Regions from separate parts of the Homo sapiens genome. Here region 2 is linked to region 1. The links are contacts of gene promoters, found by promoter capture Hi-C in blood cells and fetal thymus (Javierre and others, 2016). All regions are on one chromosome and are shown on one strand. The core of a region is centred on a gene start or on the middle of the fragment in contact, and the rest is flanking DNA. Distances in the headings are between cores, read along the strand shown. Region 1 holds the start of ATP4A (ATPase H+/K+ transporting subunit alpha). Region 2 holds the start of MAG (myelin associated glycoprotein).

Evidence for each region. Contacts are between HindIII fragments. The CHiCAGO score rates a contact against its expected background, and 5 or more counts as called.
Region 2: a fragment that was not itself captured here is called in contact with the fragment with the promoter of ATP4A in region 1 in 1 of 17 cell types (erythroblasts); the score reaches 5.5 in erythroblasts.

What each region holds. Positions count from the first base shown.
Region 1 is chr19:35,561,820-35,566,193 of GRCh38, forward strand. ATP4A (ATPase H+/K+ transporting subunit alpha) reads right to left here and starts at 1,839. Exons shown (of 22, transcript NM_000704.3): 1 at 1,799-1,839; 2 at 1,565-1,708; 3 at 1,390-1,449; 4 at 616-819. The coding sequence starts at 1,810. RefSeq lists an enhancer at 2,994-3,495. The HindIII fragment of the contact is 9,853 bases long and covers 1-4,374 here.
Region 2 is chr19:35,289,795-35,294,283 of GRCh38, forward strand. MAG (myelin associated glycoprotein) reads left to right here and starts at 2,367. Exons shown (of 11, transcript NM_002361.4): 1 at 2,367-2,410; 2 at 4,441-4,489. The HindIII fragment of the contact is 253 bases long and covers 1,638-1,890 here.

The sequences.
Region 1 (4,374 bases), core at 589-3,088:
CATGTCCTCTGCTTCCAAGTCCCATCTCTTTTTTTTTTTTTTTTTTTTTTTTTTAAGATGCAGTCTCGCTCTGTCGCCCAGGCTGGAGTGCAGTGGCATGGTCTTGGCTCACTGCAACATCCACCTCCTGGGTTCAAATGATTCTCCTGCCTCAGCCTCCCAAGTAACTGGGATTACAGGTGCCCGCCACCATGTCTGGCTAATTTTTGTAATTTTAGTAGAGATGGGGTTTTGCCATGTTGGCCAGGCTGGTCTCGAACTCCTGACCTCAGGTGATCTGCCCGCCTCGGCCTCCCAAAGTGCTGGGATTACAGGCATGGGATTACACGCCCGGCCTCCAAATCCCATCTCTTACGTATCACATTGCCATACTCTTTATGCCCCCACCTATGTCCCCATACCCAAGATTCACCCCAGTGTCCCTGTGTCCTGTGTCCTTGGGTCTGCCCCATCCATATCCCAATGTCCTTCACCCTCCATGACCCCTGTCTTGAGACTGCCTTTCGTGTTCGTCTATCCCCATCCTTCTCTGCCCCTCTTGTCCCAAGTCCCAGGCTCAGTGTCTTCCATCCCCAGGTCCCCATGTCCTGAGCCTGTCCCCACAACATGGCTCACATTGTCGTCGGTGGTGAGGTCCCCCTCACTAGCCTGGATGGCAAAGGCGATGAGGCAGATGGCGGCGGCAACCCACATGAGGCACTGCAGGCCCCCGGCCAGCTGCCTCGCGAACTTGACGTACTCTGGGGTGCCCCGTGGTGGCCGCAGTGCGTTGGGCCCATCCCGCAGCAGCAGCTCAGCAGCCAGGCTCGCAGAGAGGCCCTGGGACAGAGGGGCAGGGCGAGGCGGTCCTGGGGGCTTTCCTCCACATGCACACCCCGTGGAAAGCCCCCTGCTTCAGTTTCCCTTCTCCAGCTTGGTCTGTCCTGCTCCTTCTCATCTCTTTGTCTCTTGGTTCCTGCCCCCACCCCATCTCTCCCTCCCTCCTTCATCTCTCCCTTTGTCTCTCTCTCCTCGCTCCCCTTTCTATGTGTCTCTCTCCTGCTGCTCTCTCCTTATTTGTCTCTGCCTTCTCTGTCTTGCTGTCTCTTTTCAGCTACTCCTCTCTCCGTCTCTGTGTGTCACCCTTTCTCTCTAATGCTTTCTCCCTTCTCTCCCTCTCCCTCTCTCTCCCTCTCTCCATCTCCCTCCCTCTCTCCTCCCCTCCCTCCATCCTTTCCTCTCTCCCTCCCTCCCTCTTTCCTTTTCTGCCTCCCTCCCTCTCTCTATTTCTCCATATCTTCCTCTCTTCATCTCTCCCTCTCTCTCCCTCTCTCCATCTCCCTCCTTCCATCTCCCTCTCCCTCCCTCTCTCCTCCTCCCCTTTCTGTACGCTCCCAGTCTCCAGCTCACCTTGGTGGCACTGGTCTGGTATTTCTGTTCCAGCTCCGCCACTGACAGCTGGTGGTCGTTCTGTGTGGTGGGGTGGGGCAGGGTGCTTGCTCTGGGCTCTCCTGGCCCCCTCCCCGCCCACTGCCTGGTTCCCAGCCTACCCTCCAGCTCCCGCCCCTCCCCAGTCAGAGCTCACAATCTCCATCTCCTTCTTCATGTTCTCCAGCTTCTCCTTCCTCTTGCCACCCCCGCCACCCGCCTTCTTCTTCTTGCTCATCTTGGCAGCCATGTCCCCGCCAGGGCCAGGACCCAGCTCCACCGAGTAGAGCTCATAGTTCTCCTGGGAATGGACAGGATGGAGGGAGGGAGAACTCAGATTCCACTGCAACCCCTGTCCCCACTGCACCCCGGACCCCTGGGCCCCACTCACGGCCTTCCCCATGGTGCCCGGTGCCTGTGCTCCCACCCAACAGAGCCTGGGCCCGGACCAGTCCTGATATACCCAGGGAGGGCGGTGGGGTGGAGCAGAACCGCCCGACCACAGCTGATTACAGGCTCCTTGGGGTGACCTCTAGGCCTGGGCACCTCAGGCATTCCCTCCTGGGCTGGCCCCCCCCTCCCCTGCCCAGATCCCCCCATGTCAACCTGCCCTGAGATCAGGGAGCCCCTGGGAACCGCTGCAGCAACAAGAAGAGCAAACATAAGGTGCTCATTATGCGCTGGGCATTGTGCTGACGGCTTCCATGTGCTAACTTATTTAACCTTCCAATAACCCTTTGAGGGGACAAGACCCTTTACAGATGGGGAAACTGAGGCATGGAGGGGTTGAGTCATTCTCCTATGGCTCCATCACAGGCTAGGACATAATGGAGTGAGAACCAGATCAGCTGGCTGCAGAGTGTCCTCTTTCAGTCTAAATAGCACGTGCCTGATCAACTGGAAGAGGAGGGTGCTCCCACACTCTTTTTTTTTTTCTTTTTTTTTTTGAGATGGAGTGTCACTCTGACACCCAGGTTGGAGTGCAGTGGTGCAATCTCAGCTCGCTGCAACCTCCGCCTCCCGGGTTCAAGTGATTCTCCTGCCTCAGCCTCTTGAGTAGCTGGGACTACAGGCACATGCCACCACACCCAGCTAATTTTTGTACTTTTAGTAGAGACGGGGTTTCACCAGGTTGGCCAGGCTGGTCTCGAACTCCTGACCTCAGGTGATCCACCCGCCTTGGCCTCCCAAAGTGCTGGGATTACAGGCGTGAGCCACCATGCCCTGCCATGCTTACAACACTCTCTATGGTGGCTGAATGTTTACTGAACTCTGACTATTCACTATGGGCTGGGTGTGCTCTGTGTGTCACTCAAATGGTTTCCTTAGCATCTAACAGCAGCCCTGTAAAGCAATATTCTCTTCTTAGCCCCCATCAGGGACTTTGCAGAAGATTTCAACGTCTAAGAATTAGGGACAGGGTTCCAGCCCGGGCTTGACCCCAGGGCTTGACCCCAGAGCCTAGCTCTTCTATGGCACCACCAATGGAAAAACCCAAACTTCACTGCAGCAGCACCACACACATGCCAGGCTCTGCACGTGTGACCTCACGGGTCTTTGCAAAAAACCCTGTGCAGGCAGAACTATCATTCCTGTTGTGCAGAGGGGGAAACTGAGGCTCACAGGGACTCACATATCCAGCTACAGACTTTACAGCTCTCAACCATTCCCCGTCCCTACCCTAGATGGGGAAACCAAGGTGCAACATGGGGAAAGGATGTGTCCAAGGGTCTTGGCTTGATCTTGGTGTTGGGTGACAGATGCCAGGAGGCCTGGGGACTCCCTCCTCATCCCTCAGGTAGGGACCTCCATGGGCAGCAGCAGCGAGGGGCTGGGCCAGTGGAATGGTGGGGACCTTGGTATGTTATGGGGTGAGCGTGTCTCCAGGAGCAGGTGAGCGTGCGCCTGATAAGATAACTGCCCTGGCAATGTCCTTCTCTACTGGGGCAGGTCACCTGGGAAACTCAAAGCTGTTGGGCAGCCAGAGCTCCTCCCCGCACCCACACGGCTGGTCATCCCCAGCCTGCTAGAAGAAACCTCCAAAGAAGAGGTGGCGTGGGGCCACATGCTGTCCTTGTAGTGAATCTACTCGCTCACTGGGCTCCCATCAGCTCTGAGCCATGTATGTCAAACAGCTTGTGTCACCCCCTGCTTACAACCCTCCAAAGCCTTCCCTTCCCACTCAGAATAAACTCTGCACTCCTTCCTGCAACATCTGGCCCTGGTCACCTGTCCTGCCTCTGTTGCTGCTAGGTTTCCAGGGGCACTGACCTCTCTGCTGCACTTTGCACAGACCAAGGTCGTTCCTGCTTCAGGACCTTGGTACTTACAGTTCCTTCTGCCTGGGCCCCCTTCCTTAGATGTCTGCACTGGCTTTCTCACCTCTTTCAGGTCTCAGCTCAAATGTCACCTCTTCAGAGAGTCCATTCTGTAATACTGCACACTGTGTTCTGTTCCTTTACCCCACTGTATTTACACCTCCTACTCCAACCTGACACTGTGTTTTCTTTTTATTTGTTTGGTGTTCATTAGAAGGAGGACTGGGCCGGACACTGTGACTCACATCTGTAATCCCAGCACTCTGGAAGGCTGAGGTGGACGGATCATGAGGTCAGGAGTTCGAGACCAGCCTGGTCAACATGGTGAAACCCTGTCTCTACTAAAAATACAAAAATTAGCTGGATGTGGTGGTGTGTGCCTGTAATCCCAGCTACCAGGGAGGCCGAGGCAGGAGAATCACTTGAACCTGGGAGGTGAAAGTTGCAGTGAGCCGAGATCATGCCACTGCACTCCAGCCTGGGTGACAGAGTGAGACTCTGTCTCAAAAAAAAAAAAAAAAAAAAATAGAAAAATAGATAGATAAGAGATGTTAGACAGATAGATGGATACATAAATGATAGATGATTGATAGATTTTTTTTTTTTTTCTTTTTGAGACAGAGTCTTTCTCTGTCGCCCAGGCTGTAGT
Region 2 (4,489 bases), core at 514-3,013, 270 kb before region 1:
ACAAAGCAATACTATGTCTCAAACATAAATAAATAAATAAATAAATAAATAAATAAATAAATAAACGGCAAATCTGGGCAGGGGTGAATACAGGGGGAAGGGAATGTGAAGATGAAGATGCCATACAGAGAAAGGCCCGGAACAGATCCTCACACCCCTCAGAAGGAACCAACACTGCCAGCACTTGATCTTGTTGATCTTGGAATTCAAGCTCAATTCTGGCAGGGTTTTTTGTTTGTTTGTTTGTTTGTTTGTTTGAGTCGGAGTCTTGCTCTGTTGCCCAGCCTGGAGTGCAGTGGCGCAATCTCCGCTCACTGCCAGCCCCGCCTCCCGGGTTCACGCCATTCTCCTGCCTCAGCCTCCTGAGTAGCTGGGACTACAGGCGCCTGCCACCATGCCCGGCTAATTTTTTGTATTTTTAGTAGAGACAGGGTTTCACCGTGTTAGCCATGATGGTCTCGATCTCCTGACCTCGTGATCTGCCCGCCTTGGCCTCCCAAAGCACTGGGAGTACAGGTGTGAGCCACCGTGCATGGCCTCAATTCCGGTTTTTAAGCCACCCAGTTTGTGAAACTTTGTTGTAACAGCCCTGGAAAACTGATACACCTGCTCTCTCGTAAAAGATCAGCTGATACGGCAGCACCGGCCACTGGATCTGCGGGTCAGTTGTCCCCTTAGACAGGGCACCTGCCCGCCAGTCACAGGTCCTGTCACCCAGCCCCTTCCTCTCATGGGCTCCAGCCGCCTCGCTCCCACAGGTCTCCTGGAGACCCGAGTTGCTGATGTCAGCGACTATTGCGAGTGCTCCTGTGGGACACTGTCCTCTCCCCAGCAACAGCCTTCAGTTCACACCCAGGGAGGAGATGGAGCCCCACACTGCACCAGCACACGACTCCAGCTCCAACTAGGTGGGTGTTGATGCTGAAGGCTGTGACATGCAAATACCCCCCAGGATCTCCTTGTCACCCCGACCACCACCACCAAAGCCCAGGCACCAGGCCCCTCTCTTCTCCAGGACCCAGGCATTCAAGCCCCGCCCGACTCTCAATGGTCCTTTGTCCCGGACTGGGAAAGGCACGGGCAGAGTCTGACATCATGAAGCCTGGGGTGGGGGTGGGACTCCCCCTCCCCCTCCAACTCCCCCCCAGCCCCACAACGCTTCTCTCCCTGGTCTGAGGGATTTCCCCGCCCCTCACCCCCTGGGTTCTCCCTTGAGAGCGAGGACCCCCCCTCCCCACTGCTCTGGCCTGAAGGAGGACAGGAGATGTCCCAGTGAGGCTGAACAGCTCATGGTGAAATCACTGCTGCACTTTGTCACGCCACCTCCAGCTGCCCCGAGCCCCCACCCACCTTGCAAAAGTCATGACCAAGGGGTGGAATCTGCACTCAGAGGGTCCTTGCCCAACTTGGTCAGCACAGTCCTATGTGCACCAAGCACTGCCCCGGGGACAGAAGGGTGCACATGACAGACAGAGAGGCAGATAGGTTTCTGGTGAGCCCCTGCCTCTGAGAGCTCCTGGGTTAGTGGGAGGCAGAGGCGGGCAGACCTAGGGTGCACACGGGCCAGCCTGCCAAGGCTACAGAAGGAAAGGACAGCATTGCAATGGAGGGGCCTGGCTGATGGGCGAAGATGGGAAAGCTTCCCAGGGAAGCGGCACCCAGGCTGCTGAGCCTACAGGATGGGTGAACGGCAGCCAGTGCCAGAGTGGGGAGTGCTATGGGGTGGGGACTGCTTTCCAGGAAGAATGAGCAGCAGGTGCACAGGCCTTGAGTCTGAAGGTGCCCTGGGGCTCTGGGGAACACATTCAACCACCCACACTGTTTATTAAGCTCAACTGCCTGCCAGGAGCTTGTCTACGAGCAAGGATGGATTGAGAATATCCAAGACGAAGCTTCTGGCCTGGTGGAGGTCACGTTCTCATGAAAGGAGTTGGTGAACACGGAAGGTCATTTCAGATGGCAAGAGGAGGTGACACTGACGTTGAGGGTGGAAAGGACCTGTCTCCTCCTGCTGCCCACCTAATGTTGCCACCAAGATTCCCTGAGGACAATGCCTCTGTCCCTCAGCCTGGGACTTCCAAAGAGATTAGACTGCCCCCCCACCCCCGGGACCCAGAATCAGGGTGTACAGGGATGGAAGATGGGGAGAGAGCAAGGCAGCCACTCCCGACCCCTCCAGGAAAGAGCTAGGAGAACCCAGGCGTCAGGCTGCCCAGTCCGAGCCCCGTGGTGACAAGGGCCCCTTTGTGCCCCCCTCCCCCGGGGGTAGGGAGGAGCTGGGCCCTGGAGGCAGGCGGCCCCTGGCACCCAGGGGGAGGGGAGGGGCTGGCAAGTGGGGGCCTAGACCCTGGAAGGCAGGGGACTGCGAGCTGGGCTGGCGGAGCAGAGGTGCAGAAGCAACTGAGTCCAAGTGAGTATGGTGGCAGGGAGGCCAGGGCAAGGGGAGCAGGGCACCGGGGCAGTGGCACCCAGACGTGAGCAGGGTCAGGTGCTCTGGGTGAGGGAGCATCGCTGTGCACCGCTACTGATTTAGGATGCAGGAGTGTGTGGCTTGGGGCTGCTTTGGGGATGGGCTCGGACCATCGCTGGGGCAGCGATGGGGCTCTGGGAAGAAACCACAGAGAGAAAAAACAAAGGGCCCCCCCTCAGCACCCCTTGTGGGTGAAGATTTTGCAGGAGAGGTTTCCTTGGGGTTCCCGAGTGCGGGGCAGATGGGGTGGAGGAGGTCTGCATCTGGCCGAAGAATGGAAGGATGTCCAGGTGATCAGACACCTGCAGGCTGCAATCTGGGAGGTGGATGGGGGCAGTGGGCTGTTAGTGACTGCATTCTAGCACCTGGGCACATAGCAGGTGTGTGTGTGTGTGTGTGTGCGTGTGCGTGCACACACATGGCTGCCCATGCACCTTCCTCTGTAAGCCTCAGTCGACTTTTCTTCATTAATCCCCACTAAGGACACTTTTTATTTTTCGTTACTTTTTTTTTTTTAAGAGACGGGACTCTCACTATATTGCCCAGGCTGGTCTCAAACTTCTGGGCACAAGAGATTCTCCCAACTTGGCCTTCCAAAGTGCTGGGTTTACAGGCGTGAGCCACTGCGCCCGGCCCCAACTACAGAAACTTTTTAGATGCATTTGTCCTCATCCCATCCTTCCCTTGGCATTTTAATCCAACAGATCTGCTGTACATATGTTTATGGACTGTGGCCACACACACTGTAATAGCTGAGGTTGATTTGGCCCCCATCCCGAGAACTTGTTTTCCCCGCTGTTAAGAGTGCATGGTCTACCTGCTTGTTTCATGTCTGCCCGGGCACGTGCTCATCCTCATCTGCATCTCTCTCCTGTACCTTCCTGTCACAGGTGCAAGGGCAGCGTCGGCCAGGTGTCCATCGGCGCGTGTCTGAGTGGACGCGTCTATAGCCATCCTCAGTGTGTGTGTGCAGTTCCTTGCATCTTTGTTAGCCTGGCATGCATGCTGGGCTGTGTGTGTGTGTGTGTGTGTGTGCTGAATGCCAGGGCTGTGTCTGTCCAGGTGTGTGTGGACAGCAGCAGAGGCATTGCATGCACGCCTTGGGAACTATGTGAGTGCCAGCCCATCCCTGTGGGCACAGGGGTCCCTGTGCCTGTCTGTGTGTTCAGGGTCCTGTCTGGGTGTCTGTATGAGTCTCCGCTGCGTGTGCCTGCCCCTTCTGGCTGGGGCTACATCTGTCACATTTCATCCCCGCGATTGGATGTGTCTGTGCATGTGTCTCTGTCCGTGGGAAGAGGGCGGTGAAGGCTGGGAAAAGCAATTGCTTGGAAACCCTGGCTGCAACCCCAAGGCAACCCATGGAGCAGCAGGGTGCCAGGGGCTCGCTAGCCCCCACCCTGGGCCTTCCTGGCCCTGCTCAAAGGCCAGCCAGGAGTGCCTGACCCCTTTCTTACTCCCCACTTACCCTGAAAGCCCCCCGCAGGCTAAAACACCCTCTCCCCGAGGGAACAGGACTCTTTTGTACCGGGGACCAGCTTCTGGTGAGGGTGCGGACACCAGGGGCCGTCTGTGGGGTGGGAGAGGGCGGCAGGAATTCACGCGGCATGTCGGGAATGCTGATACTGTGAAACCCAGTCATTGATGGCTCTGGGTCCCTGCCCGCCACCCCCAGGCCCCGGCCGTGGGACATCTGCTCCCTCACTCCACTCGCCACACCCCTCAGTCTCACCCCCGTACCCCGATGCGGTCGTTCCCCCTTCCCTCCCCACAGTTCTCTGACACCCCAGCTTGGAGGGAGTTGTTGCCAGAGAGTGGCTTCGAGGCTGTGTGGGAGGGTCCCAGGCACAATGGGAGGGCCACATGGGCAGCCTGACAACAGGTCACAACCCATGCAGGAGATACTGAAGCGGGGGTGGGTTGGGTGCCTCAATCCCGCCCCCTTGCACCTGAGTGACTCTTGTTGCATGCAGGTTGTCTGGCGGCTTCAGGTGGACCCAGAAGACGTCCCCAACTCAGGGA